3 separate regions of the Homo sapiens genome follow, and regions 2 and 3 are each linked to region 1. The links are contacts of gene promoters, found by promoter capture Hi-C in blood cells and fetal thymus (Javierre and others, 2016). All regions are on one chromosome and are shown on one strand. The core of a region is centred on a gene start or on the middle of the fragment in contact, and the rest is flanking DNA. Distances in the headings are between cores, read along the strand shown. Region 1 holds the start of AXDND1 (axonemal dynein light chain domain containing 1). Region 2 holds the start of GORAB (golgin, RAB6 interacting). Region 3 holds the start of METTL13 (methyltransferase 13, eEF1A N-terminus and K55).

Evidence for each region. The method cuts DNA at HindIII sites, captures the fragments that hold promoters and counts their contacts. A CHiCAGO score of 5 or more calls a contact.
Region 2: a contact is called between the fragment with the promoter of GORAB here and the fragment with the promoter of AXDND1 in region 1, in 1 of 17 cell types (non-activated CD4 T cells). The highest score is 5.9, in non-activated CD4 T cells.
Region 3: a contact is called between the fragment with the promoter of METTL13 here and the fragment with the promoter of AXDND1 in region 1, in 2 of 17 cell types (total CD4 T cells and naive CD8 T cells). The highest score is 7.2, in total CD4 T cells.

What each region holds. Positions count from the first base shown.
Region 1 is chr1:179,364,692-179,367,265 of GRCh38, reverse strand. It overlaps AXDND1 (axonemal dynein light chain domain containing 1), which reads right to left and starts at 1,295. Exons shown (of 26, transcript NM_144696.6): 1 at 1,266-1,295; 2 at 660-862. The coding sequence starts at 756. RefSeq lists enhancers at 895-964, 1,345-1,744. The HindIII fragment of the contact is 9,843 bases long and covers 1-2,574 here.
Region 2 is chr1:170,530,861-170,533,434 of GRCh38, reverse strand. It overlaps GORAB (golgin, RAB6 interacting), which reads right to left and starts at 1,269. Exons shown (of 5, transcript NM_152281.3): 1 at 1,151-1,269. The coding sequence starts at 1,211. GORAB-AS1 (GORAB antisense RNA 1) reads left to right here and starts at 826. Exons shown (of 3, transcript NR_125958.1): 1 at 826-987. The HindIII fragment of the contact is 10,464 bases long and covers 1-2,574 here.
Region 3 is chr1:171,780,361-171,782,934 of GRCh38, reverse strand. It overlaps METTL13 (methyltransferase 13, eEF1A N-terminus and K55), which reads right to left and starts at 1,275. Exons shown (of 8, transcript NM_015935.5): 1 at 815-1,275. The coding sequence starts at 967. RefSeq lists enhancers at 929-1,462, 1,292-1,586. The HindIII fragment of the contact is 1,150 bases long and covers 888-2,037 here.

The sequences.
Region 1 (2,574 bases), core at 46-2,545:
ACAGGTGTGAGCCACTGTGCCCGGCCTATTTATTTATTTATTTTGAGATGGGGTCTTGCTCTTGTCTCCCAGACTGGAATGCAATGGCTCGATCCTGGCTCACTGCAACCTCACCTCCTGGGTTCAAGCGATTCTCTTGCCTCAGCCTCCAGAGTAAGCTGGGACTACAGGCGCGAGCCACCATGCCCGGCTAATTTTTGTATTTCTAGTAGAGACGGGATTTCATCATATTTGGCCAGGCTGGTCTCGAACTCCTGACCTCAAGTGATCCGCCCACCTCGGCCTCCCAAAGTGCTGGGATTACAGGCGTGAGCCACCGCGCCCTGCCTCACTATTACTTTTTCCAAAGTTCCTTAAAGCCAAAGACCAGGAACCAAAAAATACGTAACTATTGATATTTAAAATAGGTTGAATTTAAAATCATATATAAATCAACATTTGAAAAAAAGTATAAACTGTATTTAGATGGAGTAGTGAAACAGTACTCTGACTCAAAATACTGTAAAAGGAATGACTTCTTGCTTTATTTAAGCAAGTGTGTTAGAAAAATGTAGCCAATCAAGGTATTCTGAATATCAGATTTAAAAAACCGGTGAATGGAAGGTGATTTCTGTCTTACGGCCATGACTGTTTATGACTTCAGAATCAACGAAGTTTACCTCTTGTCCCTTCCTTGGCTACAGACACTTTTAACTTTTTGCTCTCAGATGTTGATGTAGAGTTTAGCGGGGTGGAGGGCGTTTTCGGGAGAGACATAATAAACAATGCCTCCTATCTCTTTAGTAATTTGAAATAGTCCTCCGGAAAGCTAATTTAGACACAAATCAGCGCCGCACTGGGACTTGCAGGCTGCCACATAGTCCTGCAGGCAGAGGAAAAAAGATTTAAAAAAAAAAAAAAAGATGACAACTATTGAGTACTTAGGTTCAGATCGCAGTTTAGAATTCATCTAGCATGGTTCTCCTTCTTCGGGGCGACCTCTATGTTCTGGGGTTATGTGTAGCGACTAAGAAGCCTTAGTGGACCGTCAGGTCGGGGTCAAGGAGCAGGGCAGGAAGGACCCGCTCGGCGGACCCCGCAGACCGCCGGCACCCCTGGTGGGGGACACTCGCTGCAGGCGGCTCGGCTGGGGACCATACCTTCCCCACAGGCAGCGCTCTCGCGCGCCAGTTCCACAAACTCGCGAGTTGGGCAGGCCTCGCACTGCTTCTTGGTTTAAAATGACGGGAAAGGGACACCCGCGATCCTACCCACACATTGCGTACCCGCCCAGCATCCGCTCACTTCCTCCTTTGCTGGAACGCCTGTTTGTCGTCATAGAAACCCAGGGCCCCGAGGTTTAGCGCCCTCCATAGGGGCTGCCTTCAGCGGTGCCGGCGGAGGAGGGAGACAGCTAAGACAATCCCTACACCCTCTTGGAGTTTCTTATGTTCTAAGTCACAGCATAGGTTCAGTAGCAAAGGAGAAGAAAAACGTTTAATCCCGCCGTTGTCACGGAATCCGAAAGTGTCTCACGCCGGGGCTTCCTGCCGCGGGCCAGGCCAGTGCGCAGGCGCCGGTGGGGGTTAGCTCGAGGGGCCGACCCCTGTAGCCCGTGACGCACGCGGGTTAAGCAAGGGTCTTCTGAGTTGTTTCCATCTTTCTAGCTCTCTTTTTTGTTGCTTTGCATATTTTTCTTTCTCTTTCTTCCTCTTTTTCTTTCTTTCTCTTTTTTTCCCCTGAGACGGAATTTCCCTCTTGTCGCCCAGGCTGGAGTTTAATGGTGCGATCTCGGCTCACTGCAACCTCCACCTCCTGGGTTCAAGCAATTCTCCTGCCTCAGCCTCCCAAGCAGCTGGGACTACAGGCAGACGCCACCATGCCCGGCTAATTTTGTAGTTTGTTTTTTGTTTTGTTTTGTTTGAGACGGAGTCTCGTTCTGTCGCGCTGGCTGGAGTGCAATGGTGCGATCTCAGCTCACTGCCACCTCCGCCTCCCAGGTTCAAGCGATTCTCCTGCCTCAGCCTCCCGAGGGACTACAGGCGGGGGCCACCATGCCCGGCTAATTTTTGTATTTTTAGTAGAGACGGGGTTTCACCATATTGGCCAGGCTGGTCTCAAACTCCTGACCGCGCCCGCCTCGGCCTTCCAAAGTGCTGGGATCATAGGCGTGAGCCACTGCGCCCGGACGCTTTGCATATTTTTCTAAAAGCCAGACTCAGGGGGATGTTGGGTAATAAGAAACGCTGGGTCCCTTATTGGGTAAGCCGTCCAGTGCTTTACATTTCGGTCACGTCTTCCTTGGACCCTTAAATGCCTCCCCCCAGAGCACAAGGAAGGCCTCCTGGGCCCAGATTTTTCACCCCCTTGGGGCAGGGAAGGAGGATTGAGCTTAGGTGGAACCAGCTCAGGTATAATTGTCGGGGCTTCTGGCGTGAAAATCTGCCCTCAGGAAAGAATACCATCAGCGGCCGGTGGCTCACGCCTGTAATCCCAGCACTTTCTTAGGCCGAGGCGGGTGGATCACGAGGTCAGGAGTTCGAGACCAGCCTGACCAACATGGTGAAACCCCGTCTCTACTAAAAACACAAAAAT
Region 2 (2,574 bases), core at 20-2,519, 8.8 Mb after region 1:
GAAAACACAAAGCAAAAGAATTTGAGTATATCAAGCAACACAGAGTCAGTTAACTACATAGCTTAGCCTAACCTTTATGATAGAGTTTTTAAAGTCCCCTGGACCAGTCAAAATGTCCCCAGTCGATATAATCTACATTGGCCCTATCTTACTAATTTACTTCTTTTCCCACTTGTCTGCCCTAGATTATTCTCATATTTATGCTAAAAATGCACAAGCTACCAGAGCAACATCCAATTTCCCCACAAACGCTAACAAAAGGTTTACTTCATTTGCTACCAAAATAAAGTATTTGAATTAAGGTACCAAGAGTGATGTACACTTCTTACAGAAATTGTGTGTACTACCACGATAACCATACAGATCACTGCGAAATTTCAACCACAAGCAAAGTGCAATTAATATTACTAAGTTTTCCACCAACAATCAGCAAACTTAATTCCTTCCACAACAACAAAAAAATTGTACAAGCCCATTCAATGATTACTCTATAAAGCCAGAGAGAGAAGCACAAGGTTAGCTTACTCCAAAGTCAGTAAGACTGTATGTATATAAACATATAAAGTCTTCACATCTACCCTCTCAAAGACCCTTTTGGTTTGCTGATTCTCAAAAATTGGGAAGTACTGCAAAAATCATCTGGCAACCAGAAGTGAATGCAACACTCCAGATGAATTGTGAAAAGTACCGAATTTTTGCCTTTATTCAGACGCCTGTGCTCCTTTTTTCCAACCATCTGCTTCTATAAATTCATCACAATTCTAATACGGTGTGCGCCCCTCCTCCTTCCCTTACCCTGACCCTAACCTTCCAACCGTTGATTCCTGCAGCAATCTTCCCTAAGGGAGACACCCCGGCTGTAGGCTCACTTCCTCTCCCAAGTCCCATTCCTTTCACAAGAGTCAAATCCCTACAGTGGATTCCTGGACCGTTTTTTCTAAAAGAAGATCCCAGTCCTCTGGCTTGCCCCTCCCGTCGTGACTCCCAGTAAGTCCTCCTCTGAAACCCCCTAATCCAGTCCACGTACTTACAGCGCCTTCCGCTAACACAAACGTAGCCGCTTCCACGCCCCCTTTCCCCGCCAAAGCTGCATCCCCGCCTCTTCCCCTTAAGACCCAAGAATTAAACCACTGTAAACCCATCTTGTAACCTTTAGTCTGCTTTAGTCTCCTCAGTTCCTCCTCAGAGAATCCTGCCCAACCTTGCGCCATCGGCCCGGGCCACCGGCACCCCCAAAAGTGCCCAAATCTCGCAGCCGCGACTGCCAACACTGCTGCCCAGCTCATCCGGGTTTTTCCCCGGCCGCGGCCAATCAGTGCATCGGGCTCCAAACACAAGGCCCTCTCTCCCCGGCCTCAGGGTCCGGCTTCCTTCCAGGCTGCCTTCAGCAGTGCCTGACAAACTGCCTAAGGAAACCTTGCCACGCAGACATTCGTTTCCTCTGGCTTACCTCTACTCTCTCTCTCTCTCATTGTTTCTCACTGTTGCTGGTTAATCGCTTCAGGAGCTAAGGGGGGAAATGGCGATGGGGATAAGGGTGGAGATAAACAGGTATTTGGGAAGGAGCAACAAGTCGGTGGCGGAAACGGGAGATCTAAGTGCCTTTGGGGTCCTGTACCTGTGGGGCGGGAGCGGTGCTCTCTGTGGCTCTTAGTGTGCCCTAAAATCCTTGTGTTTTGCTGGGAGTGTGCACAGCGCTGGAGGCCTCCTTCAGATTAACTCAGGAAATGATCAGATTTAGGATTTTGATGATGAAGAAACATTTAAAAGGGGTGGGGTATAATTGATGAAAAGGGAACAGGCATAACCAGGTCTCTCGCAGGCCGGAGCGGCTCTCAGATTTCTTTTGCTTTGGGTTGTTTCCTTTGTGAATAATTATAATATGTAACTTTCCTCTTAAGGGATTTCTTTTTCTTTTTTTCTTACTTTTTTTTTTTTTTTTTTTTGAGACATAGTTTCGCTCTTGTTGCACAAGCTGGAGTGCAATAGCACGATCTCGGCTCACTGCAACCTCCGCCTCCCGGGTTCAAGCGATTCTCCCGCCTCAGCCTCCCGAGTAGCTGGGATTACAGGCGCCGGCCACCACACCCGGCTAATTTTCTGTATTTTTAGTAGACACGGGGTTTCACCATGTTAGCCAGGCTGGTCTCGAACTCCTGACCTTAGGGTATCCGCCCGCCTCGGGCTTCCAAAGTGTTGGGATTACAAGCGTGAGCCACTGCGCCCGGCCGGGATTTCTTAGTCTCCCCTTTAAATCTGTTTTTCAGAGAAGACATTGTAAAACGTCGGTGCTGGGGGATGGGAAAGCATTTCTTAGGATCCTGCCTGGAATCCTAATACCGTAATTCGGGTTCTGCCTTGAACACTAACCTGAGATCCCATTTCCTCATTTGAAATATGGTTGCAAAGATTAAAAGATGCAAGCGTTGTCAAAATACACATAGATAAGGATGATTCAAGAGAGACCTAGTTATACTATTTTTCATGGTTCTCTTTCACTATTTTTGCAGTAAGAACAACAAAACACCTCATCTTGGCTTACATTTTAAAATACTTTGGCTTTAGTGTGTTGAT
Region 3 (2,574 bases), core at 26-2,525, 7.6 Mb after region 1:
AGCTTCCCCACAAATGTTAAGTTTTCTACCTTCCTCCTTCCCTACCTCCAGTACAATCTCACCTATACCAAACCCATTGTTGTACTTATCACGTTTCACTTCTGGAACATGTGCAGGGTTTACGTCTTAATGCTCTTATAGTTTAAGGACTGAGCAGTGCCTGAAACTTGGGGCGCACTCAACGACTATTTGAAAAACAAATTCATACACAAAGTCACACCTGCTGCAGGTTGCACAGGAATGCACAGTGACAGAAGAACATACTTTCAAGATGGGAAGTCACTCTTCAAGTAGGGTTATTAATCCAAGAATGAGCTGGGGTGGGAGGTCTATTATCTGAAAACCTTTAAAGAAATGTTTTTTTTTTTAGACAGGGTCTCACTCTGTCACCCAGGCTGGAGTGCAGTGGCGTGATCATGGCTCACTGCAGCCTCGACCTCCTGGGCTCAAGCGATCCTCCCGCCTAAGCCTCCCGAGTAGCTGGAAATACAGATGCGCGCCACCACGCCCGGCTAATTTTTTCATTTTTTGTAGAGACGAGGTCTCATGTTCCCCAGGCTGGTCTTTAACTCCAGGGCTCAAGCGATCCTCCCACCTCGGTCTCCCAAAGTGTTCGGATTACAGGTGTGAGCCACTGCGCCCGGCCTGAAAGAATATTCTAGTTTGTCTTTTAGCAGGAACAATGCAGGAAATGCTGAAATATGCGTCCAACTAGGGTCCTCCCGCCTGTCACTGTCCACCAAGTGCAAGATTCCTGTTACCAGTTCCCACCTTCCGGAGCACGTACGAAGGGCTACCAACCCGCGCTCCTCACCTTTTCCCTGGGCTTGATATATTTATGTAGCACCCCGCACAGTTCCAGGTAGGTTCCATACCACTCGAAAGCTTTCTTTCCTCGCTGCTGGAAGAACTTCTCCCAATAGTCAACGGAGCCAAACTCCCTGGAACTTTTAGGTAAGAGGTTCATGTTCCTACTGCCGAAGCTGCGTTTTCAAGACTCCCCTATTCCCTGTGAGATACCATTTGAGGAGCTTGCCCACCACACGCAGGCTCCGGGACACTGCAGTGGGAATTCTTTCCACGGAAAAACAGCCACATTGATTTGTTCCCCCACTCCAAACCCCAGGAATGACCCTTACACGACAAACGCACGCATGGACCACTGAATCTCACACACGCTTGCCCCCTCCTCCGCGCCTGCTGTTCCTTCCCCACGTGAAGAGCCCCTCACACTTTTCCCGAACTAGATTTCCGAGCCCATAACCATATCCGGGTGCGAAGCCTCGTGATTCGTCGGCCGGCCCAGCCCAACTCAGCTAGTCATTGGTCGCTGCTTTGCGTTTCTATCACCTCATTGGCTGCGACGTGCTTGCCTTTCTCCGGAGGCTCCGTCGCAGACACCTAAACGCTTTTTTGACCTGAGGCCGGCCGACCATTCACGGAACGGGGCGGGACCGCGGGCCGGAGTTGTGGCGGAAGAGGCCGGGCCTCTGTGAGAACTAGGTCACGTCCGGGTGAGGAGTGAGCGCGGCTGTGCTGTGGTTGGGCCCTCCCTCCAGGCGGGGCGGAGAGCGCGCTTGCTTCCTGGGCTCGGCCTCCGCTTTGTCTTGGAGCCGGCTTAATCACTGACTCCGATCGTGCGCCGCACAAGGGCGGAGCGCGGCAGGCGGGAGCGTACTGGTAGAGGAGGACGAAAAGAAAAACCTATACAGATAGGAGAGAAGTGAGGCAGGAAATGAGTAAAGCCAGTCCGTCGTAAAAACGCTGCACATTCTAACCTTGTCAGCTTCTGCGCACCAGCACCCCCCGCCTTATTTTGCCACCTCTGCACCAAAATATAGGATTCTGCTATCAAAAGTGTAATAACATGAAAACTCCCTCTTCCTTCTCTCCGCAAAGCACAGCATGCAAAACTAGCCTTTCATTTTGATAATTGGCCTCCTTGTGTTATTCTGACGTTATTTATAACTGCTTATTTTATGTGTTTGATAAACATACTGTACTTTCACATGCTCATGCTAATACCCTGAGGAAGCTTCTGTGAAGGGCACTTTTTTTTCAGACAGGGTCTGTCTCTGTCGCCCAGACTGGAGTGCAGTGGTGCAGTCATGGCTCACTGCAGTCTCCACTTTCCAGGGGTCAGGGGATCCTCCCACCTCAGCCTCCCAAGTAGCACGCCACTACCGCTGGCTAATTTTTTTTTTTTTTTTGTAGAAATGGGGTTTCGCCATGTTGTCCGGGCTGTTCTCAAACTCCTGAGCTCAAATGATCATCTCGCCTCACCCTACCAAAGTGCTGGGATGACTGGTGTGAGCCACTATGCTGGCAGGCACTATTTGAAAATGACCAAATATGTGTATCACTGGGCCTTTCATACCATGATAAATTGCAGGAGGAATATACTGATTGCGGAGAGCAGATAGGCTTGGAATTGAGCATGTGTGCTGTGGGCTGTTACATACTACACTACCACAGGTAGATAGCCAGGTAGACTGTTAATAGTTAAGTAGGTTAGATTGGACTTAAACATTGGTTTAAAAAAGTGATTCTCAAACTGGCATGCGTCAGAATCAC